Regions from separate parts of the Homo sapiens genome. Here regions 1, 2, 3 and 5 are each linked to region 4. Evidence: promoter capture Hi-C in 16 types of primary human blood cells and fetal thymus (Javierre and others, 2016). All regions are on one chromosome and are shown on one strand. Each heading gives the region's core, a stretch centred on a gene start or on the middle of the fragment in contact. The rest is flanking DNA. Distances are from core to core; before and after follow the strand shown.

Region 1 (5,748 bases), core at 3,249-5,748, 140 kb before region 4:
TGGGGACAGGGGACAAACTGGGATCCTGTCCCAGCATTGCTGCATGCCAGCTTTGTGACCTTGGGCAAGTTCCTCAACTCCTGAGACCCCACAGGGATAATACCCACATCGTCAGAGGCTGGGTGCCCTGCAAAGGAATGAAGAAGTAGCATGTAAAGCTCAGGCTAATTACTCAACTCCTGCCCAGCTGCCGATTTCACACCTCAGAAATGAAAATGCTAACATTGGTCTTAATGGTTGTTACATGAGAATTACATGAGATGGTAGTGAGAGAGCTGGTGCATAGTAAGTGTTCAATAAATATCATTTCTGACCGGGTAAGGTGGCTCATGCCTGTAATCCCAACACTTTGGGAGGCTGAGGTGGGAGGATCGCTTGAACCCAGGAGGCGGAGGCTGCAGTGAGCTGTGATTGCACCACTGCACTCCAGCCTGGGCAACAGCAAGACCCTGTCTGTACAAAGAATAAAAGATAAATTAGTCAGGCGCTGTGATGTGTGCCTATAGTCCCAGCTACTTGGGAGGCTGAGGCAGGAGGATCACTTTAGCCCAGGAGTTTGGAGGCTGCAGTGAACTATAACTGTGCCACTGCATTCCAGCCAGGTCAACAGAGTGAAACCTTGCCTCTTAAAAAAAAAAACCCAAAACCTTCATTTGCCTTCTCCTTCATCATCTCAGCCAAGACCCAGGCCTAGCACACACCCAACTTCCAAATCTCTTTCCTTGTAAAAGGCACCCTTTTTAATACTTGTCTCCAGTCTCTTAGTGTCACACTCTTGAGCATCTGATGGAAGCCACGGGCCTCTCCCCCAGAAAGAAGGCACAGATGCACTTACACATCCTAGTGGACAGTTCCCTGGGGAGCCCAGTCCCCCTGAAGCCGGCCTACCCATGGTGCCCAAGCTAAGGGCTCTTGCTCTGTAGGATTAGGGGGTTTATTTATTTATTTATTTATTTATTTATGTTTGAGACAGGGTCTCACTCTGTCACCCATGCCAGAGTGCAGTGGCGTGATCATAGCTCACTTCAGCCTCCAACTCCTGGGCTCAAGTGATCCTCCCATCTCAGCCCTCATGGGTCGCTGGGGCATGTCACCACGTCTGGCTAATTACAAATTATTATTATTGGCTGGGAGCAGTGGCTCACGCCTGTAATCCCAGCACTTTGGGAGGCTGAGGCAGACGGATCTCCTGAGGTCAGGAGTTCGAGACCAGCCTGGCCAATGTGGTGAAACCCTGTCTCTACTAAAAATACAAAATTAGCCGGGCGTGGTGGCATGCACCTGTAATCCCAGCTACTTGGGAGGCTGAGGCATGAGAATTGCTTGAACTCAGGAGGCGGGGGTTGCGGTGAACCGAGATCACACCACTGCACTCCAGCCTGGGTGACAGAGCGAAACTCCATCTCAAAAGAAAAAAAAAAAGTATCATTTTTTGTGGAGACAGGGTTTTGCTCTGTTGCCCAGGCTGATCTAGAACTTGTGGCCTCAAGCAATTCTCCCATTCCCACCGTGGCCTCCCAAATGGTTGGGATGAGCCACTGGCCCAGCCTGCTTATTTTTAATTTAGGTGAAACTTACATAACATAAAACCATTTTAAAATGAGCAATTCAGTGGCATTTAGTATATTCACGATGTTGTGCCACCCCCACTTCCACCACTTCTATCTAGTTCCAAAACATTATCACCTCAAAATAAAACTCCATATCCATTAAGAAGTTACTCCCCATTCCCTTATTCCCCCTGTCCCTGGCAATCACTAATGTGCTTTCTGTCTCTGTGGATTCACCTATTCTAGACACTTCATATGAATGGAATCTTCTGTGGCCGTTGTGTCTGGCATGTTTTACTTAGCACTGTGTTTTCAAGGTTCACCCATGTTGTAGCATGGATCAGTGCTTCACTGCTTTTTATGGTGGAAATAATCTTTTAAAAACAAGATTAGATCATGTCCCTCCACTGCATCTAAATCACCCAGTGGCTTCACCTCACCCTTTCCTGAGAATACAGCCTCCTCTTGCTGACACTCCCTCTGTGACACAGCCTTTTCCTTGGACCTTGTTGGGGACCACTTTCCTCCTCGCCACTCCCTTCCAGTCACACTGGCTTGATTTCTGTCCTTTAATTTTTTTTTTAATTTTTATTTTTTGAGACAGTCTTGCTCTGTCACCCAGGCTGGAGTGTGGTGGCATGATCTCAGCTCACTGCAAACTCTGCCTCCTGGGTTCAAGTGATTCTCCTGCCTCAGCCTCCTGAGTAGCTGAGATTACAGGTGTGCATCACCATGCCTGGCTAATTTTTGTATCTTTAGTAGAGATGGGGTTTTGGCATGTTGGCCAGGCTGGTCTCAAACTCCTGGCCTCAAGTGACCCGCCTGCCTCAGCCTCCCAAAGCGCTGGGATTACAGGCGTAAGCCACCACGCCAGGCTGATTTCTGTCCTTTAAACAGCACAAGCTTGTTCCTACCTCAGGGCCTTTGCACCTGCTGCTTTCTCTGCCTAGGATGTCCTGGAACCAGGCTGCTGGCATCAAATTCAGGCTCTGCCACCCATTAGCTCTGTCACCTTGGGCAAGTAAGATAGCATGTCTGAGCCTCAGTTCTCTCCCCTGTGAAATGGAGAAAAGGGAACCTCCTTGTTCAATAGGCGAGGCATGTCAAGCACCTGCCAGAGCCTAGTGATGCAGAGAGTGCTCAGTGCTGTTGATTGTTAATATATTCCATCAAACAATGACAAATTGGATCTTTTCTAGAAGAAATATAAAGTGGAAACGGAAATCGAGAACTGGATCCAGAAATATGATACAGAGATGGGTGAGAAGCAGGTATTTGTCGCTGAATAAGTCTCTCTCGCATGCTTTTCCCAAGACCTTCTAGGAATGGGATGAATGGGAAAAGTAGCCTTGGGATGGTCCATGGAGTGGGCAAACTTCTGAGCCTCTCTGCAGGGAGCACTTCCCTTTGTTTAAAGGGTTTGTCCAGCCTGGGGCAGAGTGAGAGGTGGGAAAGAAAAGAGCCAGAAGCTGCAAGGCCAGGTGCTGTGGCTCATGCCTGTAATCCCAGCACGTTGGGAGGCTGAGGTGGGAGGATCGCTTGAGCTCAGTAATTCAAGACCGGCCTGGGCAACAGAGCAAGACTCCATCTCTATTAATTTAAAAAAAAAAAAAAAAAAAAAGCGACTGGCTAGAAGGGCCTGACACTCTGACACTGGGCCTAATGATCATGGCTCCATCTAGTGTCCACATCCCATACTCCTCTGGATGGGCTCCTGCCAGCACCCCTACAAGGTGGGGCTCCTTCCCACAGACTCAGATGGGAGCCTGCCTCCACTGCATCACTCAGTCACTCAGCCAGTTTTTATTGAGCACCTGAGATGTGCCAGCTGTGTGGCCTTAAGCAAGGTACTTGACCTTCCCAAGCCCGTTTCTGCATCTGATTAGCAAAGGCAGTAATTCCCATTTTGGGACCATGGCGGGGATTCGGTGAGACACCATGGCTGCAAGTGTGTGTGCCCAGCACAGGGTCTGGCCTGGAGGGAAGTGCTCAGGGGGTGGTAACCTTCAAATCGAGACACGCCCAAACCCTTCACCCAGCACTGGGATAACATTGGTGGCCCATGGCTCCAACCCAGGGGCCAGGGAGGACTGGGGAGCACTGGAGAGCACTGGAGGTAATATGCGCTGGAGTGAGCCAAAGCCAGGTGTGCTCTTCAGAGAAGGGCAAGTCAGAACCTTGTCCTGGGCAACCATCAGGGCCTGGAGAGGGGAGCTTTGCAGGCGGGGGCTCTCATTTCTCTGGGTCCCATGAGGGTTGTGGGTTGGTTGCGGGCAGGGACTTTGTCCACCCAGCTCTGTGTCCTCTGGCAGTGCTCTGCTTTTTGTAGATGCTGGGAAAACATCAGTGGAAGGAAGGAAAACGGGTGTAAATGACAGCAGGAGAGGCTATGGTTAGACATAAGGAAGAACTCTGGGACTCCGTTTGAGGCCTGAGAAAGTTCCTTCTCCTCTGGTGTCTTGTGGAACAGACTGCTTTCATGGCAGCAGCCTCCATTTCTTGTGTCCCCACTGTGTGCCTGGCATCATGTCCAGTACATTGTGTCCATCGGGTCATTTAATCCTAGAAACAGCCCCTGGCTTCGGAATCGTCCCCATGTTTCAGATGAGGAAAAACGAAGGCCCGAAAGGTGAAGTCAGTTGAGGTGTGGCAGAGCTGGGACTTAAAACTAAGTCTGCCCAACTCACAAGCCCATGTTCTTTTCCTGTTCCTGAAATTATTTCAGTTGGGTCCTTCCTAGAGCTAGGATGGAGCCCATCCCCTCTCCCCATCCATGTCACTGGGACCGAGAGATGCTGAACAGCTTAGCTTAGGGGCATCGCTGGGGCAGAAGACCATTTGGGAAGGGTAAGGGGGCCTCAGGGAGGAGGGTGGGAGGAGGCACTCTATGTGTGGTGACCCCAGCCCCACCCCTCACCCCAGGAGGAGTTGGAGGATCTGGACGCTGTTCACAGGGAGGAGAAGATCTCGCTGGAGGAGCTCAGGCGGAGGCACAAAGTGCTGGTGGGAGAGTTTGCGCAGATCCGGGAAGAGCGGGAGATCAACTCCAAGAAAAGGATGGAGGCAGAGCAGGAGATGGTGCGCATGGTACGGGCGGCCACGCTCATCCAGGCCCTATGGAAGGGCTATCTGGTGCGCTCCCTGCTCAGATCCAAGAAGAAGCGGGGCAAGGGCAAAGCAAAGGACAAGGAGAAGGGCAAGCAGAAAGGCAAGGAGAAGGGCAAGGGCAAGAAATGAGCTCTCCACCCAGCCCGCTCCTGACCCTTATCTTCCCAGAGACCAGGCCAGGAAGGCCCGAGATGGAGAGCACTAAATTCACGGCTTTCATGTTTTTATTTAATAAATTAAAAAGTATTTGAAGCCACATTGAAGGGAACGCTCTACGAATAAATCTCTTTACCCAGGGCTGTGGGCTGTGTGTGTCCAGCTCACAGATGGTGTTTCCATGAGGAGCGTGCAGCCTGGGGTGTCAGCCCAGAGATTATGGTTCCTTACTTCAGCCTTAGTGGGAAACCAGACCCCAGCTGCAGCCCGGAAGCTGCCATGGCCATGATGGACACATCACTCACCAGGGCAGCGGGGTGTGGGTCACAGCTGCCCATAGGGGGCAAAGAAGCAGGCAGGGAACTCCAGGAGGAGCGGGGCCTCAGGTTTCAGGCTGCCCCTAACCCTGTTCTGGGATTAATTTGCTTGCAACTTCCCCTGCTCTAGCACTGTGAAAGCTCAGAGGGAGTCCTGAGGTCACAGCAGCCCTCAGCCTCACATTCCAGGGAGCTGAACAATTATTTAAAACAACTTTTTTTTTTTAAAGTAAAAAATTTTTAGGCCAGGAGTGGTTACTCACACCTCTAATCGCAGCACTTTGGGAGGCTGAGGCAGGCAGATCACTTGAGCTCAGGAGTTTGAGACCAGCTTGGGAAACATGGCAAAACCCCATGTTTTATTTTTTGTCTCTACAAAAAATTAAAAAATTAGCCAGGCATGGTGGCACACGGCAGTAGTCCCAGCTACTTGGGAGGCTGAGGTAGGAGGATCACTGGAGTCTGGGAGGGTCGAGATTGCAGCGAGCTGAGATTGTGCCACTGCACTCCAGCCTGAGTGACACAGGAAGACCCTGTCTCAAAAAAAAAAAAAAAAAAAAAAAAGGGTAGGTAGAGACAGGGTCTCACTATGTTGCCCAGGCTGGTCTTGAACTCCT
Region 2 (5,787 bases), core at 1,801-4,300, 180 kb before region 4:
TCAGAAGAAGAGTAACAAGAGGTGAGGCGGCCATGAAGCAAGCATGGGCACATTGGGGAAGTGACAGCTGGAGGACAGCTACATCCCACAGAGAGCTTGATGGCCTAGGCCTGCCACTTCTCCAGGGCCCTGAATTCCTATGCAGTCAATGGCCAGGCACTGCTTTCGGCCTTCCCTTCCTTTTGCTTCAGTTTCCCTTTCTGTTGGTGGGGAAGGCAGCCCAAAAGGAGCATTGTGAATAAAGGAAAATACAATGGAAATCAAGAAGCCACCCTAAAGAATGAGCAGGAGTGGCCAGGAGCGGTGGCTCATGCCTGTTATCCCAGCACTTAGGGAGGCTCACCAAGGTGAGCAGTTCACCTGAGGTCAGAAGTTCAAGACCAGCCTGGCCAACATGGTGAAACCCCATCTCTACAAAAATACAAAAATTAGCCAGGCATGATGGCAGATGCCTGTAATCCCAGCTACTCGGGAAGCTGAGGCAGGAGAATCACTTGAACCTGGGAAGCCGAGGTTGCAGTGAGCCGAAATTGTGCCTCTGCACTCCAGCCTGGGCAAGAGTGAGACTCTGTCTCCAAAAAAAAAAAAAAAAAAGAATGGGCAGGAGATGGAGCTGCTTGATTTTTAATTCTCCCTGCAACACAACAGGAATGGTAGTCAAGGAAGTTAACTACTGTCCCTCAACTGCTACAACACTTCAGAAAATGCAAACTACCAACTCACATCCCTTAAGAGGAACCGGAAGAATGTGAGAACGGAGGAAAGGTTCACATCCTCAATGCAGAAAGTCCTTCAATTACCTACTCATGGGTTGAGACTCTGACTGTAGACAATCATATACTGATTTTACAATGAAGAAACTGCAACTTAGGAAAAAACAAGCTCAGCTCCTCATTCAAGGATGTTCAGCTATCAAGAGACGATGCCAGAAATTCAACCCCATCCTTTGCAGACTGCGCGACACTCAGAAAATGTTCAACCGTTGTAGACACCAGCAGGTACCATCACTCCTCAATAGACACACATTCATCACAGCCTAAGAATCTCCCAAGCCACCTCCATTTATAGACTTCTGTGTCCCCATACACTCTGGACGGCGTCTGGTCTCCAAGAGGAAATAGCAAAAAACAACATGCAACAAAATCAAATGGGCCAACTAGGCTGGAGGCTGAGTGGACTTTAGCACTCATAAAATCTGCGCCCTGTTGAAGCTACCAGACTGGCTCGAGGCTGTGCAGTAAAAACTGCAATTCCAAACAACCAGGCAGGCCAGCCAAGTGTGAACAGCCGAGCCCGCAAGAAGAGAGGCCCCTCGAGAGTCACAGAGAGAAGACATCATGCTTGTCGACGACCACCCACAAGTGAAAGGCAGCGCAGCCGGCAGCTTGGAGCAGCTCCAAGCCATTAGCCAGCACTAAGCACAGGTCGCTCTGCCCAAGCTGGTTTTCAGCAAGTGCTGAAAGAATTAGGAAAAAAAAATAATAAAATCCCAATCTAACAAAAAGAGAGATAAAAAAGAGAGACAGGCAGTCTACAAATGGTAGGGCGGCGACGGGGAAGCTTAGATGGAAGGAAGGTTGGGATTGGACATGTGTGGGCTCCTGGGGAGTTCGAAGCTGGAAGCAGAGACCCAAACATCCAAAAAGTAGGCTGTTCCTAGGGGCAGCAACGCCATGCCCTGCTGGGCTACTTCTGGTCTGATCACATGTGAATGAGTCTCCTTGTCACCCTCCAGTGGCTCCAGGGGCTGGTTTAGCTGTGACAGTCACCTGGGACCCTGGATGTTTTTGGAAACCGGTGACTCACTCCCAGATATGCAACTTCTATTATGTCTATTATTGTGCCCAGAATATGTGTAGAAGAGACATGATCCCTGCCTTTGCAAAACTTGTACTACCAGAAAGAGGCACAGCTGTGTAAAACATCAGCACCTAAAACAACAGCCATTAACACCCAGGCATTACACTGGGTTAGGCCTCTACCTTCCTGCCCTGCCCTGCCCAGTCATCTCAAACAGGCATCAGGGAGACACAAGAAAGAAACTCACAAACCAGGTAAGCCCTAGCTGGGGGGAGCAGGATTCACAAAACCCTGCTTGATGCTGGATGAACAGAATGGGTATTATTCATACTACGAAAGGATTCTTTGCCAAACTTAGCCCTCCCACCTATATTTTATTTTGAAATATATATGTATATATGTATTTCTAGAGACAGGGTCTTACTCTATGCCCAGGCTCGAGTGCAGTAGTGTGATCATGGCTCACTGCAGTCTCAGACTCCTGGGCTCAAGCAATCCTCATGCCTCAGCCTCTCAAGGAGCTGAGACTACAGGTGTGCACCACCACACCTGGCTAACTTTTTTTAACTTCTTTTTAGAAATGGGGTCTCACTATGTTGTCCAAGCTGGTCTCAAATTCCTGGCCTCAAGTGATCCTCTCGCCTTGGTCTCCCAAAGTGCTAAGATTACAGGGTGAACCACTGCGCCTGGCTCCCACCCGTATTTTAAATTACCTAATTCATCAAAACTCCATTTTCTCACAATCCATCATGGCACAAAGCAAACTCTGATTCAATCATCAAATCGATCACATCCCGGTGCTGGGGAGCGAGTGGGTCTCTGTGCCGTGAAGAGCAGAGAAAGAGGTATAAACAGCATACCTGGAGAATGAGAGACTGTGGAAACACAACCACTATCCTCAAAGGTTAGGGAAGGCTCTCAAGGCCTTCAGCTAAATAAACAGGAAGGGCCAGGAGTGGTGGCTCATGCCTGTAATCTCAGCACTTTGGGAGGCCGAGGCAGGTGGATAGCAAGAGATAGCAAGAATGGCTCTGGGGAAGACTTGGTCATTTAAGGTAGCAAAAAGGACACTCTAATATACAGCTACTGGATTGTTGCCAGGCCAAGGAGCAGGGGTCACACCCACGTGGCACTCACAGGACATATCTGCAAGTCTTCCAAATGCTGCTGAAGCAGGAAGCCACCAAAACTAGGACCCCTAAATCATGTTTTTTAAGGAAAAAAAATAAGCGGCACTGCTGCTGCAGTAACATGATGCTCTCTGCTTGCTTCTACAGCTAAAATATGTGGGCAAAGAGATCAGAATATTTTTAATAATTTGTCATCCAAATACCCAAGCTGTATTCCAAGATGCCAATTCCTCAATACCGGAAGTGTGGCTATGAGGATAGGTTTCTCCACTAAGTGGGAAAGGCAGAACATCAGGGCTTTATCGTGAAGGAGGATGATAAAATGAGAGGTAGGCTGCCATCTGAACAGACTAAGAACTTCCTGATCAACCCAAGATGGGTTGTTCAGGGGACTGTGTCAGTGCACTGGAACAAAGCAGGAACTTATCTGCCGGAAACAGAAGCCACACTTTTTATTCAGGAGAGTGGCCCTGGAACTTCAACGTACTTTCTGATCCTAAGAGCTGGGTGTGGTGGGATTAGGGAGGGCAAAGTGGGAGATATGTGGCAGGGCTGGGCACAGTCAAACATCTTCCTCCCATCAGCTCTGCTTTTCTTTCACTAGCTGCTTCCTCCATGCCCAATACCGCTGGGATGTTTCTCATCAAAGAGCACCCTCCTGGGCCAGACCCCAGGCCAGGTGAGCCTATGAAAGTCCTCATCTGTTCAGCATTGTCCAGATGCTTCCTGAGTGCCTCTTAAGAAGTAGGGACTGGCCAGGCATGGTGGCTCACGCCTGTAATCCCAGCACCTTGGGAGGCCGAGGTGGGCAGATCACTTGAGGTCAGGAGTTTGAGACCAGCCTGGCCAATGTGGTGAAACCCCGTCTCTACTAAAAATACAAAAAAATTAACAGGGTGCGGTGGTGCACACCTGTAATCCCAGCTACTGGGGAGGCTGGGGCACTAGAATTGCTTGAACCCGGAAGGCGGAGGTTGCAGTGAGCCGAGACTGTGCCACTGCACTGCAGCCTGGGCAACAGAGCAAGACTCTAACTCAAGAAAAAAAAAAAAGAAGTAGGAACTGAGCTACTGAGCTGAGCTTCTGGGACCTGGGGAAGTTCAGTGACTGGTCAGGGAGACAGACACAGAGAGAAAAATGCCAAATCCGGCTCCTACTACTGCAGAATAGCCTGGCAGTTTCCTCTCCATCCACCTCTCAATCTCCAGAGGGAAAAGTAACCCCTATTCAGGGCTGACCCACCCCAGGGTTTCTAAGCTCAGGGCTTATCAAGTTGGCTAGAGACAGCATCCCGAGCTGGCAAGATGTCAGCAGGAAGATGCTCTGTCATCACTTGCTTTCTGGCCCAAACACATTTAGCAGCTCCCATGCCCAACTCAACCAGGTCCAAACTCCTGCCATCAGCATTTTAGGCACTCTGTAAAACAGATATGCCTGCTCTGACCCCTGACCCTAATTATAATGGCTGACATCCACCCAATGCTCATTCTGTATAAGCCAGGCACTGTGCTAGTTGTGTGAGGCATGCTATCTTGTATAAACCTCAGAACAGTCCTAAAAGGTAATACTAATATTAGTGTCATTTTACGGATGAGGAAATCAAAGCTTAGAGAGGTTACATCATCTGCCCAAAGTCCCAGCAGGAGAAGTCAGGGCTGGATTCAAACTCAGTGGGTCTGACCCCAGAGTGCATGTAACCACACCCAAATCCAATCTGCCCCCAGCATGCTAGTCTCTGGCCCCGTCCAGGGTGTGGGTCTCAGAAGAGTTCCTACTTCTTTTTTTTTTTTTCTTTTTGAGACAGGGTCTTGCTCTGTCACCCAGGCAGGCTGGAGTGCAGTGACAATCTCGACTCACTGCAACCCCCCTCCTTACTTCAGCCTATGCCATTTCCCCTCCCTGGGATGTTCGGTCCCTCTCCCCAGCACCCCAAACTCCACCTCTTCCTAAGTCACACCTGTCCATAGTTGATCTTCTGCTACTCCCCTGGCTGAGCTGCATGGTGTCCAGCCAAAGGGCTGTACCGTCAGAATTCAACCAGGGGCTACAAACTCAAATGCCTACAGGCACCAGGCAGGTAACAAACATGGGGTGCCGGGGGGTGGGAGACTCAGATGCCAAGCTGTACGTGCACAGCAACTGCTTGGTTATGCAGCCTCTTAAAACACAGTTCAGGCAAAACACAGTAGGCACCCCGTGTCCCTGGGCCACCTCCACACTGCCCGGTCTTGCCATCATTGCCAACTGCTCTTGCCAGGGCAGCATGAATGAATGTTCAGACACTACCCTGAAAAACAATGGTCATTCCCCTGCTTAAAGTGCCCGGGGCTTTTCCGCCACCCCAGGATGAAGGTCCAGCTCCTCTTCAGTATGGCTCTAGGAGTGCAGGCAAGGAGACCCTCAAGATTTGGATCTAACCTTTCTCCCCAACCCTCTGACTCAGATGCCACCCACTCCAGCACATGTATACCTTTCCTCCCCTATTCCTTTCTTCTGGGAGAATCTTTCACTTCCTGTTCATCTCCTTAGACACTCAGCACACTCAAGCTTAATCCGATCTCTAAAGCCAATCTGGATGCTACCCCAACCCCTCACCAAGAGGAAGCACGCCATCTCCTCCTGCCCCCATCTTCCACCTTCTTGGGAAGCCATGTCCACCTCCCCTAAACCCTTCTAGAGTTATACACCACAAAAGCAGCATGTTCTATACTCATCTCACTGCCAACCAGACCAAGCTGTAACTATACTTGACGCACTTCTTCTAACTTCCAGGGCAGCTGTTCTAAGTCCTAAATGTGCGGCCATTTTAGTAACTCGACTTAGTTTTTCAGTTGACAAGAAAGTGACGATTTAAGGA
Region 3 (5,563 bases), core at 955-3,454, 200 kb before region 4:
CTTTTGGAAGCATATTAATATCCTACTTAGTTAAAAATTAAAAACAACTGGATTTGTCCCCTGGTGCAGGGCCATCTGTTGCTCTTCCCTGCTGACAGCCACGCCCTCCTCTCCCAGCAACACTGGGCCATCTGTCTCTGTAGAACATCCCCTCCTTGCTCTCTGTCCACATTGTTTGGCTCTGGCCAACTCCACCCCTGGTTCCCAGGCAGGTGACCTGGGCCTGGCAATAAGCCCCTCATCTCCCTTGGGCATTCAGGCATAGCTGCTGACCCAAGTCCAGCCAGTGACAGCTGAACTTGAAACTGTTCCCAGGCCAATTAGGAAGGAGGGGCTCTTTCCCTGTTGTTGCTGGCGGCTGCCTCTGCCACCACATGGGGAAAACTTGCCTGAGAAGGAAGTCAGCAGACAACAAAACAATAACCAATAGATAACACTAACACCAGCTGCACCTCTGGAATCCAGCTGTGCCTGAAATCTACCCCTTAATTTCCAAAATCCAAGCTGATAAACAGATCCCATTGAGTCTGAGTTGGGTTTGTCACAATAATCCTGAAATTCAGTAGTTTACACACAGTAAACAACGGCACCAAGAAATGACGCATTCATTGGGAAGAAGTGAATCTGAGAGAAATCTGTAAATCTGCATTGTAAATGATCCACCCGAAGGAAGATAAAGAATCTAATGTTTTGGGCTGAGCACGGTGGCTCACGCCTGTAATCCCAGCACTTTGGGAGGCCAAGGTGGACGGATCACCTGAGATCAGGAGTTCAAGACCAGCATGGCCAACATGACAAAACCTCAACTCTACTAAAAATACAAAAAGTAGCCAGGCGTGGTGGAAGGTGCCTGTAATCCCAGCTACTCAGGAGGCTGAGGCATGAGAATCACTTGAACCTGGGAGGCGGAGGTTGCAGTGAGCCAAAATCGCATCACTACTCTAGCCTGGGGGACAGAGCAAGACTCCGTCTCAAAAAAAAAAAAAAAAATCTAATGTTTTGATACTGGGATTTGCACAGTTGGCAGAAAGCAAATGTGTAAGGCTTACAACCATGCAAGGGACAGGAGACTGACAGGGCTCAAAGGCCTGCTGGGTTGCAAAAGGTCCTTCTGATCTTGAATTGCCAGTCATGAGCAATGAGGTCCAGCCACATGCAACTTACTTCCCCAGCTCCCTGCTTTTTTTAAGACACAAGATCTCACTCTGTCACCCAGAATGGAGTACAGCGGCACAAGCATGGCTCATTGCAGTCTTAAACTCTTGAGTTCAAGAGATCCTCCTACTTCAGCCTCCTGAGCAGCTAGGACTACAGGCATGCACCATCACGCCTGGCTAATTTTTGTATTTTTATAGAGGTGGAGTCTCCCTTTGTTGCCCAGGCTGGTCTCGAACTCCTGGAATCAAGCAATTCTTCTGCCTTGGCCTCCCAAAGTGTTGAGATTACAGGTGTGGGCCACTGTGCCCAGCCACTCCACCCTTGTTTTTTCTTTCTTCCTTTTTTTGAGATGGAGTCTCACTCTGTCACCCAGGCTGGAATGCAATGGCGTGATCTCAGCTCACTGTAACCTCTGCTTCCGAGGTTCAAGTGATTCTCCCACCTCAGCCTCCCGAGCAGCTGGGATTACAGGTGCCTAACACCATGCCCAGCTAATTTTTGTATTTTTAGTAGAGACAGGGTTTAGCATGTTGGCCAGGTTGGTCTTAAACTCCTGACCTCAAGTGATCCACCCGCCTGGGCCTCCCAAAGTTCTGGGATTATAGATGTGAGCCATCGTGCCTGGCCAACCCTACCCATTTTTAAAAACAGTTTCGCTAAGTTGTGCCACAATAAACAGTATATATTTTAAGAATACAGTTTGATACATTTTGACCTACGTGCATATCTGTAAAATCATCACAACAATCAAGATAACATATCCATAACCCTCCCGTGCCTCCTTGCCCATCCATGCCCAGGCAACCACTGAGCTGCATTCTGTTACTATTAGATGAATCTGCATCTATTATTACATATAATATATATATTTACATGATGTATTATATAAATGGAATAATACAGTATGTAGTCTTTTTTTTTGCTTGGATTCTTTCACTCAGAATAATTATTTAAAAACTCATCCACATTGCACTGTGTACCAACAGTTCATTCTGTTTCTTTGCTGAGTAATAAATATACCACAGTTTATCCATTCACCTGTTGATGAACAGCTAAGATTGTTTCTAGTTTTGGGTTATTTCAAAGTTGCTATGAACATTCATTCAGGGCTTTGTGTGGATGTACACTTTTTGTTTCTTTTGGTAAAGCTAGAGGTGAAATAGCTAGATCACATGTTTAACTTTTTACAAAACTGCCAAACTGTTTTCCAAAATGATTGTACCATTTTACATTCTCACTAGCAGTATATGAGAGTTCCAGTTCCTCCACATCTCCACCAACTGTTGATATGCTCGCTCTTTTTAAGCATTTTTTTTTTTTTTTGAGACGGTCTCACTCTGTCGCCCAGGCTGGAGTGCAGTGGTGCCATCTCAGCTCACTAAAACCTCCACTTCCTGGGTTCAAGTGATCCTCCTGCCTCAGCCTCCTGAGTAGCTGGGATTACAGGCACGCACCACCATGCCTGGCTAATTTTTAAATATTTTTAGTAGAGACGTTTCACCATGTTGGCCAGGCTGGCCTTGAATTCCGAACCTCAGGTGATCTGCCCGCCTCGGCCTCCCAAAGTGTTGGGATCACAGGCATGGGCTGCTGCGCCTGGCCAACTTTAAGCATTTCAAAAGATGGGTAGTGGTATATCATTGTTTTTCATGTTCATGCTTGAAATTTGCATTTTCCTAACAATAATGTTGCACAACTTTCCATATGTTTATTTACCATCTATCTTCTTTGAAGTGTCCAGATCTTTCACCTTTTTCTTTTTTTTTATTATTAAATTGAGAGCTCTTTTATACACTCTGGATACAAGTCTATCAGATACATGATGATTTGCAAATATTTTCCCATTTGTGGTTTGTCTTCTCATTCTTTTCTAACAGTGCCTTTCAAAGGTCACTAAAACAGAAGTTTTACAAATTTTGATGAAGGCCAACTTATCCATTTATTCTTTTTATGGATTAATACTTTTGATATCATATCTAAGAAATCTTTGCCTAACCCCTGGTCATAAAGATTTCACATCAGGCTAAGGTGGGGAGGATCACTTGAGCCCAAGAGTTCAAGATTAACCTGGGCAACGCAGTGAGATCTTGTCTCTACAAAAAAATTAAAATAAAAAAGATTCCACATCAAGGCACAGTGGTGTAAGCCTGTAGTCCCAGTGCCTAGGAGGCTGAGGTGAGAGGATCACCTTAGCCCAGTAGTTCAAGCCAGCCTGGACAACACAGAAAGACACTGTCTTTAAAAAAGAAAAATAAAAACAAAGATTTCACATCAATACCTCGATGTCTTGGTTACTGAGGCTTTATAAGTCTTAAAATCAGGCAGTGTTAATCCTCCAACTTTGTTCATATTTTTTTCAAAGTTGTTTTGGCTAGCCCAGTTCTTCTGAACTTCCATATAAACTTTAGAATTAGTCAATTTCTTTGTCCCTAATCCAGGAGTCCAAATAAATAAATACATACATACATGCATACCCAGCCTGGGGAATATAGTGAGACCCTACCTCTACAAAAAAAAAAAATTTAAAAAGTAAAAAAATTTGAACTTCCATATGAACTTTAGAATTAGTCAATTTCTTTGTCCCTAATCCAAGAGTCCAATCAATCAATCAATCAATAGAAACCTAGCCTGGGGAATATAGTGAGACCCTATCTCTACAAAAAAAAAATTTTTTTTAAGTAAAAAAATTAGGCAAGCACAGTGGCATGTGCCTATAATCCCAGCACTTTGGGAGGCTGAGGTGGATGGATCGCTTCAGGTCAGGAGTTGAAGACCAGTCTGGGTAACATACTATGACCTCATAACAAAAAGTATAAAAAATAGCTGGGCATGGTGGCTTGCACCTGTAGTCCCAGCTACTCAGGAGGCTGAGGTGGGAGGATGGCTTGAGCTTGAGAGGTCAAGGCTAGAGTGAGCTATGATCATAGCTACTGCACTCCAGCCTGGGTGACAGAGCAAGATCCTGTCTCAATAATAATAACAGGCCAGGCACAGTGGCTCATGCCTGTAATCCTAGCACTTAGGGAGGCCAAGGCAGGTGGATCACCTGAGCTTAGGAGTTCGAGACCACCCTGGGCAACATAGTGAAACCCCGCCCGTCTCTACTAAAATACAAAAAATTAGCCGGGCATGGTGGCATGCGCCTGTAGTCCCAGCTACTCAGGAGGCTGAGGCATGAGACTCACTTGAGCCCAGGAGGTGGAGGTTGCGGTGAGCTGAGATTGCGCCACTGCACTCCAGCTTGGCTTACAGACTGAGACTCTGTCTCAAAAAAAAAAAATTAATTAATAATAATAATTAGTCAATTTCTACTTAAAAAAAAAAGTCTGCTGGGATTTGATTGAAATTATGTCAGATCTATTGGGGAGACTCTTAAAAACCCATGAATATGGTATATCTGTCAGTTTATTTTGATCTTTTTAAATTTTCTTAGTAATATTTTACAGCTTTCAGTATACAGACCTGACACATCTTTTCTTAGATTTATCACTAAGTCTTTTATATTTCCGATGCTGTTGCAAATGAAGTTGCCTTTTAATCTCAATTTCCAATTGTTTGTTGTTAGGATACAGAAATACAGCTGATTTTTATATGTTGGCCTTCTAGCCTGCAACCTTGATAAACTCACTTAAAAGGTCTAGTGGCCTCTTTTGTAAATATGTCATGGGCGTTTCTATACAGAAGATCATGTTGTCTGAGAATAAGGACAGTTTTATTTCTTCCTTTCTAATCCAGATGCCTTTCGTTTTTCTTGCCTTATGGCACTGTTTAGAAGCTCCCTTACAATACTGAATAAAAATGATGAGAAGGGATATCTTTGTCTCATTCCTGATCTTAGGGGAAAAGCATTCAGTTTTTCACCACTCAGTATGATGTAAGCTAGAAGTTTCTCGTAGATATCCTTTATCAGTCTGAGGAAATTCCTTTCTGTGCCTAGTTTGTTGTGAGATCTTACCATGAATGGGTGTTGCATTTTGTCAAACACTTTCTGTGTCTACTTCGAGATGATTTCAGCTTGAGAATCCCTAATCCGAAAATCTGAAATCCAAATGCTCCAAAATTCCAAACTTTTTGAGCACCAACATGACACTCAAAGAAAACGTTCACTGGAGCATTCTGGATATTCAGGTTAGAAATACTCAACCAGTAAGTATAACGCAAATACTCCAAAATCTGAAAAAAATTAAAAATCGGAAATACTTCTGGACCCAAGCATTTTGGATAAGGGATATTCAACCTGTATATGGTTTTTCTTTTTCCTTTGGTTAATATAGTGAATTACAATGATTGATTTTTGAACATTAAACCAACCCTGCATTCCTGAGCTAAGTCCCCCTAGTCATGATGTATTATCCTTTTTATATATTATTGCATTTGCAAAATTGTTTAAATTTTTTGCATCTAC
Region 4 (5,076 bases), core at 1,862-4,361:
TACTTAGTTTTAATTAATGTAAATTTAAGTAGCCACATGTGGTTGGTGGCTAACATATTGGTTGGCACAGCTCTAGAGGGAAAGCGAGCATCCTACCAGCCTGGGGTTATTACGTGTGGTTCTGTCATCCAGGGATTCATAGGAACTTCCCCAAACCCCATCAGCTGGTCCTTGGGGGGTCAAACATGCCAAGGATTTCTAGGCTGCTTCTGCACGGCAGGACCCCACCAGTCCCCACTGCCCATGGAGCTTGTCACAGATACCACCGGGCAATGACTCAGGGAGATCTCCCCAACGATGACAAATCTCCAGAACAAAAGAGAGTAGGCCTGAGAGTGGGACCTCATCGATTTTATCTCCATCATCAGCCATCACATTACCACCAACGCAACCATCAACATCACCATCATTACAACCACAACAGGATCACCAATACCACTAAGTAACAGCCACACACAGGGCTACCAGCCACACCACATGGCCACGAAGACTGCCACCAACATCATTCTCTCATTTTCTCCATCATCACCACCCCATCACACCACTTCCAGCACCACCACCAACACAACTATCAATGTCACCAACACCACTGAATCCCATGGTTAACGCTATCACTGACATCACCACCAACACTGCCACGTCACCATCATCCATCCCTCCATTGTCACCAAGACCCCACCACCATCAATACTATCACTGAGTCACCACCAACACAACCGCTAACACTGTCTCCTCCATCATTGCCACCTCACCCCACCATCAACACCACCAACGCCCCCCATCCCCAATTAATTACCACCAGCACGACTCCACCCCACAAACCAACACTTGGAGCCAGTATAGGATACCAGTTAAGAACTTTGGTTCTGGAACTCAACCGCCTGGGTTTAAATCCCAGCTCTGAGTTTAAATCACTCAGCTTCTGGGAGACTCGGTTTCTTCATCTATAAAATGGGACTCATAATAATACAACAATACACAGACTTACTGCCTGTGATTCTTGGGAAAAATCAAATGAGGAAGTGCATGTAAAGCCCTTATTCTACAATCCCATGCTACTGCTGTTCTAGGTTCTGTGCTCAGTGAGCACAATTTTATTTAATCCTCACTCAGCTGTGAGAGATATTGATCTACCCATTTTGCAGATGAGGAAACTGAGGCTCAGAGAGATGATGCAACTTGCTCAAGGCCCTACAGCTTGCTCAGAGGCTGCATTGGAATCCAAGTCTTAAACTGGACAAGGTTAGACTGCCCTGTTTTTCTGGAGGTGAGGCAGGGAGATGGGGAAGGGATTTGGCATCAGCAGATTTACTGGGATTTTCAGCATCCTACGCTGCAAGGTAGTGATGGCTCGGCGGGGCGGGTGGCATGGGGTGGGTGTCTGCTCACCTGTGTCCTGGCGAAACTGGTGCATGGACTGCAGGTCGATGATGTAGGGCACAAGCTGGGCGTCCACCTGCCCCAGGACCACGGAACCGCGAGCGTCCTCCTTCAGCACGTTCTCAATGTGGTGGCACACGGTGGCCGTGTAGGGCCGCCAGCGGCTGTGCTCATTCAGCCACTCCCACACCACCACCCGGGCCACGTTCTGCGGTGGGAAGCCCAGACCATTCACAGGCATCAGCCCACCGTGGCCTGGCCGTGACATGGCCGCCACTGCCTCAGGGGCCAGGTCCCCCACTATTGCAGGCCCAGCTCCTCCTGGGCCTGGCAGCAGGCGGCAACTTCCTCTCTCCCCAGGGGGACAGCAAGGACCGTCTGGCCTCCTTTCTAACTCTGGGTTCTCTCTGAGGCCTAGAGACCTCCGTTAAAGGAATGTGGGATGGCCATCCAGGCTGCAAAGACCCCTTCCCTGTAGAGCCTTCTCCGATAAAGGGTGCTGCCCTGGAAAGCAAGTGTCTCTCTTATGCCGGAGGAAACAGCTCTAAAGTCCTTGGCCCCCTCGGCTGGCTCAGGTAGGGAGTGAGGCAGCCGCCCCTGTTCGAGGTCCAGCCTCTTCCGTGTTGTCTCTTGGTCCCTCTTCCCCGCCAGACAGGGCCTGTCACCCAGGAGGCCTGGGCCACAGCCTGCTGCTCCTGCGGCTCTCAGCCAGCCCTTTGCACTCCCAACTGCGTCCCAGACCCTGCGCCCGGCTTCAGTGGGGCTTCTCGCCTCCCTCCGGTCTGGGCCCCCTTCTCCGACGGCTCCTGCCGAAGGGGGCGTCCCTGCCCCCTTGTTCCCTCTCCACGGTGTCCTGGAAGGCCTGGGTGGCCGCAGAACGCACGGGGGAGGGGTGCGGCGTGGACCCTCGGGCGGCGCGCCTGGACTGCGGCTCCGGAGCTGGGCTGGGGGACGAGGGGGACGAGGGGGGCGGGGGCCCGTGGGCACGCCCCACCCCACTCGTGCTCGCGACCTGCCAGGAGACAAGAGGGGAGAGGGCCCTTTAAGAGGAGAGCGCAGCACCCCCTCCCCCCTTCCCAGGAGAGCATTCGGCTGAGAACAATGGGGAACCGAAGGGGGACAGCAAGGGGGGCGTACGGGGTCGCCCCGCCCGCTTTCCCTTGGGGCAGGCCTGGAGGGAAGGCAGGGGCCGGGGGCGCGGTTTTCCGAGACTCTCCGCCTGGGGGGCGCCCTCCTTGGCTCCCGGAGCCTTCCCTTCCCCCGGGGCCCTCGCCCTGCCGGGGGGATGCCGGGTGCGCTGGGGTGCGCCGGGAAGCACGGGGATGCGCGGCGCTGCAGGCGCGGCCCAGGGCCCCTCGGGGGTCGCGTCGCGGAGGGGGCGAAGCCAGGAGCTGGATCGTCTCTGCCTCCCGCCCTGGGGGTAACAGCCCCGCTTCCCCAGCCCAGACGTCCCCGAGCCGCTCGCGGGCCCCCAGCGGGAGCCGGGGGTGGGGTCCCTAAGCACCCGCGTTCTCACCGCCTCTCTTCGTCTCCGGCTCCGGCTCCGGCTCGCGCTCCAGCACCGCCGCCTCCTGGGCTCCCCCCGGAGTGGGAGGGAGCCGCGGTCCCGCCTCCGCGCCCGTTCCCTCCCAGGCCCCTCGGCCGCCGCGCCGAGCTTTCCGCGCGTGGACAGACTGCCCGGCCGACGGACGGACGCAGGAGCCGGCTGGCGGCCGCCGGGATCTCGCGGGTGGGAGGAGGCCTCGGCCGTGCTCCGGGAGGGAGAGGGGAGGGGGCGGAGGAGGAGGAAGGGGAGGAGACAGATCTCGGCCCTGAGCGCCACCGGCGCTGACACGCGAGTCTCGGGGCGCCCCAAATCCTCGGCCAGGCCCTCCCGAGACCCCAAGGGGCCTTCTGACCCCAAGCAGAGCGTGAGGCAGGGAGTGGGATGTTTAGGAGTCACCGGCTTGAATCTTTGTCATCTTTATTTCCAGTCTCCCAGTCCAGGGCCTGGCACTGAATAGGTGCTCAATAAATGCTTGAATGAATGAATAAGATCCAGAGACTGTCTAAAGAAAGATCTTGAAGCATTCAGAGCTAGCCTCCTTTCCTCCTCTAACTATTCCTGGGGGTGGGAGGGTGCTGACAAGGCCTGATTCAGACTCAGTTGGAACCGTGGAATCTGAAGAGTACAGATGAGGAGACTGAAGCCAGAGAGAGTAAGAGCCAGGCCCAGGATCACAAAAGCTTAGAGCGATGCCCAGACACCAACCCCGATCTGAATCTCCTGCCAGTACCCAGTTCCCAGCCCTGAGCCCACTTCCCCCAAAGCACCCACCTGCTCCAGGTGAGAGGGGTGGGACCAGGGGAGGGGACCCTGGCCAGGAGGTGAGATCCTGGAGGAAGAGAAGGGCAGGCCCTCTGCCATGTCATTCACAGCCACCTGCAAACAACTGGTGCTCAATAAATGGTGGGTGAGCATTGGTTGGATGGAAGGGAAGGCTGGAAATGGCAGCGGCTCAAGTGTTAACGGGATGGCCAGTCCCCCTGTCCTCCAGCAAGCTGGATGCGGCTGAGACACACATTGGCTGGGAGGGGGGTGGACCACCTGGGGCCTGGGGGTGTTTAGATTGGGGAAGATGAAGGATGCGTCCGGGAACTCCAGCCTGGGTGGCTGACGGGGGTCAGTGGCCTGTTTGGGCGCCTGCCCAGAGCAGCCCACGCCTGCCTCCCCGGGGCAGATGGGGATACACTAGGCAGGGTCAGGGGCAGGCTGCTCAGGGGTGCTTTCCCAGAATCCAGCTCTGGCTCTCCGGCCAGCTGGAGGGACCTCCCCTCCCCAGGCCCCTGCTCTGACCTGCAGCCCAGTGTTGGATGGGCTTTTTCAGATTGGGTCAATGATTCTGCTTGCTTTCACCTGCTGTAGACTAAAGAGAGAGGCTTTGCATAGGGCAGGGCCAAGTCTGACGATACTCCCACAGGATCACTGAGTTCTGGGATTTTAGCCTAGGGTCCCTGGATGGCCTTCTGGGGTCCATGAAGTCCCCCTCTCCCATTACAGGCAAACTTGTGTGTCTAGGCATTGTGTGTCTTGTATGTCTGGGAAGAAGGGCTCTGGCTGTCAGCAGATTCTTCTCACAGGAGACTGTGACTGAACGGATTCAGAGCAGGTGCTCAACCAGCTTATGTTGTAGAAGGATCTGGGGATCCCACAGTGGAGAAGAGATTGGCTCAAGGTCGCATGGTGATTTAGCAGCAAATTGGAAAGAAGAACTCGTGTCTCTGGACTTCCTGTCGAATGCTATTTAAGGTCTGATTAAATGTCACCTCCTCCAGGAAGCCTTTCCTGAATTCACCCCATCTTCCTCTGTGTTCCTTTGCCCATACCTTGACATGACACCCTGTATCACAATTAGCCTCTTAAATGAAATCTGTCCCTGCTAGAGTGAGATAGCCATCATATTCATCTTGGTGTGGTGTGGCTGGTGCCCCATTACATAAGGGTGTCATTTACTGAGTGCCTATTATGTGCCAGGCACTTAAATAATACTTACTACTCTTCATAACTGCCCCACAAGGAAGGTAATGTTGTCCTCATTTTACACAAGGAAACAAAAAACCTCCTGAAGCTCAGAAAGGCTAAGTAGCTTACCCAAGTTCCCACAAGGAGTAAGTGGCAGAGCTAGGGTCTGAGTCCCAAATGCTTTTGCACCTCCC
Region 5 (5,106 bases), core at 410-2,909, 160 kb before region 4:
TTATTTTGCTTTTAAATCTCAGCAGTGGAAAGGCAGAAGAGGAAATCCCAGATGAGACACTACTATTTGGCAGTCTTAAGAATTATGGTTGTATTGTCGTTTTGGTTTAACTTTTTACCACAGATATTTTCAAACATTCTCAAAAGTGCAGAGAATATATACGTGAACTTCCTTGTATCCATTACTCAGCTTTGACAATTATCTCCCATGTTTACTTTGAAGGCAGGAGAATTTATTAACTCACAGAGAAGAGGTTTCTTAATGTTACCATTATCATAATGGCTAGTGGTTTCTATGTTTTAACTCACGGCTGTCCAACCTTTTGGCTTCCCTGGGCCACGCTGGAAGAACTATCTTGGGCCACACATAAAATACACTACCATTAATGATGAGCTAAAAAAAAAGAGGCAGGGGGGTTGTTCATGCATAATTTTCATGATATCTGCCACCATAGATTAAAGTCCTCGCATTCAAATGCTTCAACACGGTTGTTTAACTGTTTAATATATGACTGCTTGCCTGCCTGTACTGCCTTTGCCCACTGGCTTTCAACTGGGGTGATTTTTGCCCCCATGGGGACATCGGCAATGTCTGGAGACATCTTGACTGTCACAACTTGGGAGTGGGGGGATTGCTGGTGGGTGGAGTCCAGGTATGCCACTGAACTTGCTTCAATGCACAGGTGAGACCTCCCGAAACAGAATTATGTGGCTCAAAATGTCAACTGAGCTGCTGTTGAAAAATCCTATCTTAGCTAATATCCCCACTTTAGGAATGAGGAAATTGAAGCTTGGAGTGGTTAACTTGCCTTTTATAAGTTTCAACCCAGGCAGTCTGAATCAGGGACCCTGCCTGCTTAACCATTACCCTATATACACCTACGACTAGAACCAGTCCCCTGATTTGAATTCAAACACGTCATTTTTCCAGACAGACAAAAATGAGGCCCAGAGAGGGGAAGAGACTTGCCCAAGGTCACACAGTGGAGGAGTAGGGCTAGAACCCGGGACTCCTGCGTCCTGGTCCAGTGTTCCCTCCGCGGGCTTTGCTTCTGCCTCTACAGAGGACCCAACTGGCCAGCGCTGGGGAAAGGGCCTAGGGGAAGAGGTTCAGCTACCATCCCGCTGTCCGCTGGGGCAGCCTGACCCAGGCACAAGACTCCTGTGGGGTCACCTAAGGGCGCCAGGGAGAAGAGCGAGGGAGGGAGGAAGAAGGAGGCAGGACAGCTGGCTCCAGCTCCACGTGCTCCCAGCCCCTGGCTGGGAGCCCACGTGAGGGTCGCCCTAAGAAGTCGGGGGCGAGGAGAGAGGGTGCAAAGCCCCGGCCCGGGCTGGACGGAGAGAAGCGCGGTGGAGACTTCCCTGCGCCCCCTCTGGGCCCGTACGGCCCACCTCCCACACCAGAGTGCTGCGCCGCAACCCCTTACTCCGCGTCCTCTGACCCCTGATCCCTGCCCTCTCCCTCGGGCCAAGCCGTCGCATCCCTCGGATTCTTACACGCGCCGCCCCAGCAACCCGGACCGCGCGCCGGGGTCCGCACCGCGCAGCCTAGCCCGCCGGCGCCGCCGCCAAAACCCCGAGCCCGAAGCTGTTGCAGCCGCCGCAGCCGCCGAAGCCGCCGCCACTTCAGCCACTGCCACCAGGGCAGCTGCGCCAGCTCTCCTATCCACCGCCTACCGTCCTCTCAACCCCGCTGGCCCCGCCCCATTTCCCCTTCACAGCGTCCTACTGGCTAACTGGGCTACCGTGATGAACTCTGATTGGCCAACTATCACGTCCTTCCGCAGGTCTCGCCCGCCGCCGATGCGGTACTCCCTGCCCGCCTCCTTAAGAAGGGGCGGGACGAAGAATCCACGCCCCTTACTCCTCCCTTGTTCCCCGCCTTACTCGTTGAGTCCAACCCAGAGGGAGTCCCAAGTCTTTCCATTGGTGAAAGGTCAAAATGGCGGTGCTTCTGATTGGTCAGACTTCAGGAGGTGGGGACAACTGAGCGGAACAATAAATTGAATGGTGAAAAGAAAGGTCAGTCAGACACCGAGTCTCGCCTTCTGAGATTGGCGGGTAACCTAGCAACGCAGGGACCGCGGCGGTAACTGTGGCTAGGGAAACCTGGAGCGGTCAGAGCAGGTGAGTAGCCAGTTGGGAAAGGGTCGCGGATCGGGGGAGATGTGGAATAGGGTTCAGCCCTCTGTCCTTTGGCTCCCTGAGGAATTAGAAGCCCCCGCTGCGATCTCGTCTCAGCTTCAGGACCCTGTCCCTCAGCTCCTGCCTTAGTCTGGACCTTTCGCTCCACAACCTGCAGGGAGCCGGCCTCCATTCTGCCCTTCTACCTGCCCACTTCATGGCTCCACTCCCTCATCCCTAAAACGAGGAGGACAACAGTCAAGCAGAGTCATATCGTAGTTAACTTATTTCAAGTCAAACATGGGAGCTGTGGGTGGGAGGGGAGTTTATAAGTCCCCTCCCATTTCACCCAACGGCCATACGTTCCTCGGTGAGCAGGCAATCTCACTTCAGTGTTTAAATTAGGTAGTTTTGTTTGTTTGTTTTGTTGTTGTTGTTGTTGTTTTTGCCGAGCATGGTGGCTCACGCCTGTAATCCCAGCACTTTGGGAGGCCGAGGCGGGCAGATCACTTGAGGTCAGGAGTTCTAGGCCAGCCTAGCCAGTATGGTGAAACCCCATCTCTACTGAAAATACAAAAATTAGCTGAGCATGGAGGCGCACCTGTAATCCCAACTACTCGGGAGGCTAAGGCACGAGAATCACTTGAACCCGGGAGACTTAGGTTGCAGTAAGCCAAGATAGCGCCATTGCACTCCAGCCCGGGCAACAGAGCAAGACTCTGTCTCAAATAAATAAATAAATTAGGTAATTTTTATTACACCACTTTTGCCTTTATCCTAACTTTGGAATTTAACTCCCATCTCCATCCTTAAGATGTGATCTCATTGTACCTACTGAAGACAGAGAGTTTCTTGTGATGATTAAATGAGGCTAAGGGCCGGGCGCGGTGGCTCAGCCTGTAATCCCAGCACTTTGGGAGGCCGAGGCCAGCAGATCACCTGGGCCAGCAGATCACCTGAGGCCAGGAGTTTGCGACTAGCCTGGCCAACATGGTGAAACCCTGTCTCTACTAAAAATACAAAAATTAGCCGGGCCTGGTGGCGTGTGCCTGTGATCCCAGCTACTCAGGAGGCTGAGCGGGAGAATTTCTTGAACCCGGGTGGTGGAGGTTGCAGCGAGCCGAGATCGTGCCACTGCACTCCAGTCTGGGTGATAGAGCGAGACTCCAGCTCAAAAAATAAATAAATAAATAAATAAATAAATAAGGCTGAGGTGGGAGAATTGCTTGATCGCAAGAGGCGGAGGTTGCGGTGAGCCATGATTGCACTACTGCACTCCAGCCTGGGCGACAGAGCGAAAAACCCTGTCTCAAAAAAATATATAAAAAAAAAACTTTGAGGTTCAAAAGATATTTTCATAAGAAAATGAAAAGATCAGCCACAGACACAGACATGGAGGAAATATTTGCAAATCATGTGTCATAAAAGAGTTGTATATAGAATATAAAAATAACTCTTATAACTCAATAAGAGGACAACTCAATTTTTTTAATGGGCAAAAGAGTTGAGTAGACATTTAAAAATCAAAAAGACAATACCAAGTATCATCATGTAGATAAATAAACAAACTGTAGCTTTCATATGTTGCCGGTAGGTACAGCAGAATACCAATTGGTACCACCAATCTGAAATATAGTTGGCAGTTTCTTAAAAAGTTAAACATAGGCCAGGCACAGTGGCTCGTGCCTGTAATCCCAGCACTGTAGGAGGCACAGGCAGGTGGATCACCTGAGGTCAGGAGTTCGAGACCAGCCTGGCCAACATAGCAAAACCCCGTCTCTACTAAAAATACAAAAATTAGCAGGGCATGCTGGCGGGTCCCTGTAATCCCAGCCATTTGGGAGGCTGAGGCAGGAGAATCACCTGAACCCAGGAGGCGGAGGTTGCAGTGAGCCGAGATCGTGCCACTGCACTCCAGTCTATGTGACAGAGTGAGACCCTGTCTCAAAAATAAATAAATAAAACAAAAAATAAACTTACACATAACCTAGCAATTCCACTCTTAGGAAGTTACCCCTCCCAAGTGAAAACATAAGTCCACACAAAGACTTAAATATAAATGTTCTTAGCAACATCACCCTTAACAGCCCAAAACTGGAAACAACCCAAATGTCATCAACAGGTGAATAAATAAATAACTCATGATATTTCCTTAGAATGGAATACTATTCAGCAATAAAATACTATTCAGGAATGAAATACTAATAATTGCTACAACCTGGATGAACCTCAAAAACATGTTAAGTTGAGGGTTTTTGGCCCAGTGGCTCACGCCTGTAATCCCAGCAATTTGGGAGGCCAAGGCAGGAGGATCCTAGTTTGAGCCTAGGAGTTTGAGCCTAGGAGCCTGGTAACAAAGTGAGACCCTATCTCTACAAAAAATACAAAAATTAGCCAGGCATGGTGGTATGCACCTGTAGTCCCAACTATTCAGAAGGCTGAGGTGGGAGGATCACCTGAGCCTGGGGAGGTCAAGGCTACAGTAATCCATGGTTGCACTGCTGCACTCTAGCCTGCGTGACAGAGTAAGACCCTGTCTATTAAAAAAAAAAGGCAGCCGGGCACGGTGGCTCACGCCTGTAAATCCCAGCACTTTGGGAGGCCAAGGCAGGCAGATCACCTGAGGTAGGGAATTTGAGACCAGCCTGACCAACATGGAGAAACCCCGTCTCTACTAAAAATACAAAAAAAAAAAATTAGCTGCGCGTGGTGGCGCATGCCTGTAATCCCAGCTACTTGGGAGGCTGAGGCAGGAGAATCGCTTGAACCCAGGAGGCAGAGGTTGCAGTGAGCCGAGATCACGCCATGGCACTCCAGCCTGGGAAACGAGAGCAAAACTCCATCTCAAAAAAAAAAAAAAAAGGTCAGGGTTTTTCAACCTCAGCTCTATTGATGTTTTGGGTGAGAAAATTCTTTGTTGTGGGGAACTATCCTGCCAATTGTAGGATATTTAGCAATATTACGAGCCTCTACCTACAAGATG

What was found. The method cuts DNA at HindIII sites, captures the fragments that hold promoters and counts their contacts. A CHiCAGO score of 5 or more calls a contact.
Region 1: a contact is called between a fragment that was not itself captured here and the fragment with the promoter of DTX1 in region 4, in 4 of 17 cell types (naive B cells, naive CD4 T cells, naive CD8 T cells and 1 more). The highest score is 5.9, in naive B cells.
Region 2: a contact is called between a fragment that was not itself captured here and the fragment with the promoter of DTX1 in region 4, in 7 of 17 cell types (naive B cells, total B cells, activated CD4 T cells and 4 more). The highest score is 9.2, in naive B cells.
Region 3: a contact is called between a fragment that was not itself captured here and the fragment with the promoter of DTX1 in region 4, in 1 of 17 cell types (non-activated CD4 T cells). The highest score is 6.4, in non-activated CD4 T cells.
Region 5: a contact is called between the fragment with the promoter of TPCN1 here and the fragment with the promoter of DTX1 in region 4, in 1 of 17 cell types (naive CD4 T cells). The highest score is 6.1, in naive CD4 T cells.

The regions. Positions count from the first base shown.
Region 1 is chr12:113,194,614-113,200,361 of GRCh38, reverse strand. It overlaps DRC10 (dynein regulatory complex subunit 10), which reads left to right. Exons shown (of 5, transcript NM_001330452.2): 4 at 2,750-2,821; 5 at 4,473-4,916. The coding sequence ends at 4,787. Among named protein-coding and RNA genes, the nearest start is that of RITA1, 12 kb to the right of the region's middle. The HindIII fragment of the contact is 4,086 bases long and covers 2,456-5,748 here.
Region 2 is chr12:113,235,555-113,241,341 of GRCh38, reverse strand. The region is part of intron 2 of TPCN1 (two pore segment channel 1); the gene reads right to left. Among named protein-coding and RNA genes, the nearest start is that of TPCN1, 17 kb to the right of the region's middle. The HindIII fragment of the contact is 2,975 bases long and covers 1,563-4,537 here.
Region 3 is chr12:113,254,407-113,259,969 of GRCh38, reverse strand. All of the region lies in intron 2 of TPCN1 (two pore segment channel 1), which reads right to left. Among named protein-coding and RNA genes, the nearest start is that of MIR6762, 34 kb to the left of the region's middle. RefSeq lists an enhancer at 3,030-3,199. The HindIII fragment of the contact is 7,288 bases long and covers 1-5,563 here.
Region 4 is chr12:113,054,765-113,059,840 of GRCh38, reverse strand. It overlaps DTX1 (deltex E3 ubiquitin ligase 1), which reads right to left and starts at 3,111. Exons shown (of 10, transcript NM_004416.3): 1 at 2,897-3,111; 2 at 1,390-2,392. The coding sequence starts at 1,648. RefSeq lists an enhancer at 1,085-1,873. The HindIII fragment of the contact is 5,893 bases long and covers 1-3,608 here.
Region 5 is chr12:113,218,017-113,223,122 of GRCh38, reverse strand. It overlaps TPCN1 (two pore segment channel 1), which reads right to left and starts at 1,659. Exons shown (of 28, transcript NM_017901.6): 1 at 1,497-1,659. DRC10 (dynein regulatory complex subunit 10) reads left to right here and starts at 2,029. Exons shown (of 5, transcript NM_001330452.2): 1 at 2,029-2,126. RefSeq lists an enhancer at 2,281-2,430. The HindIII fragment of the contact is 6,265 bases long and covers 792-5,106 here.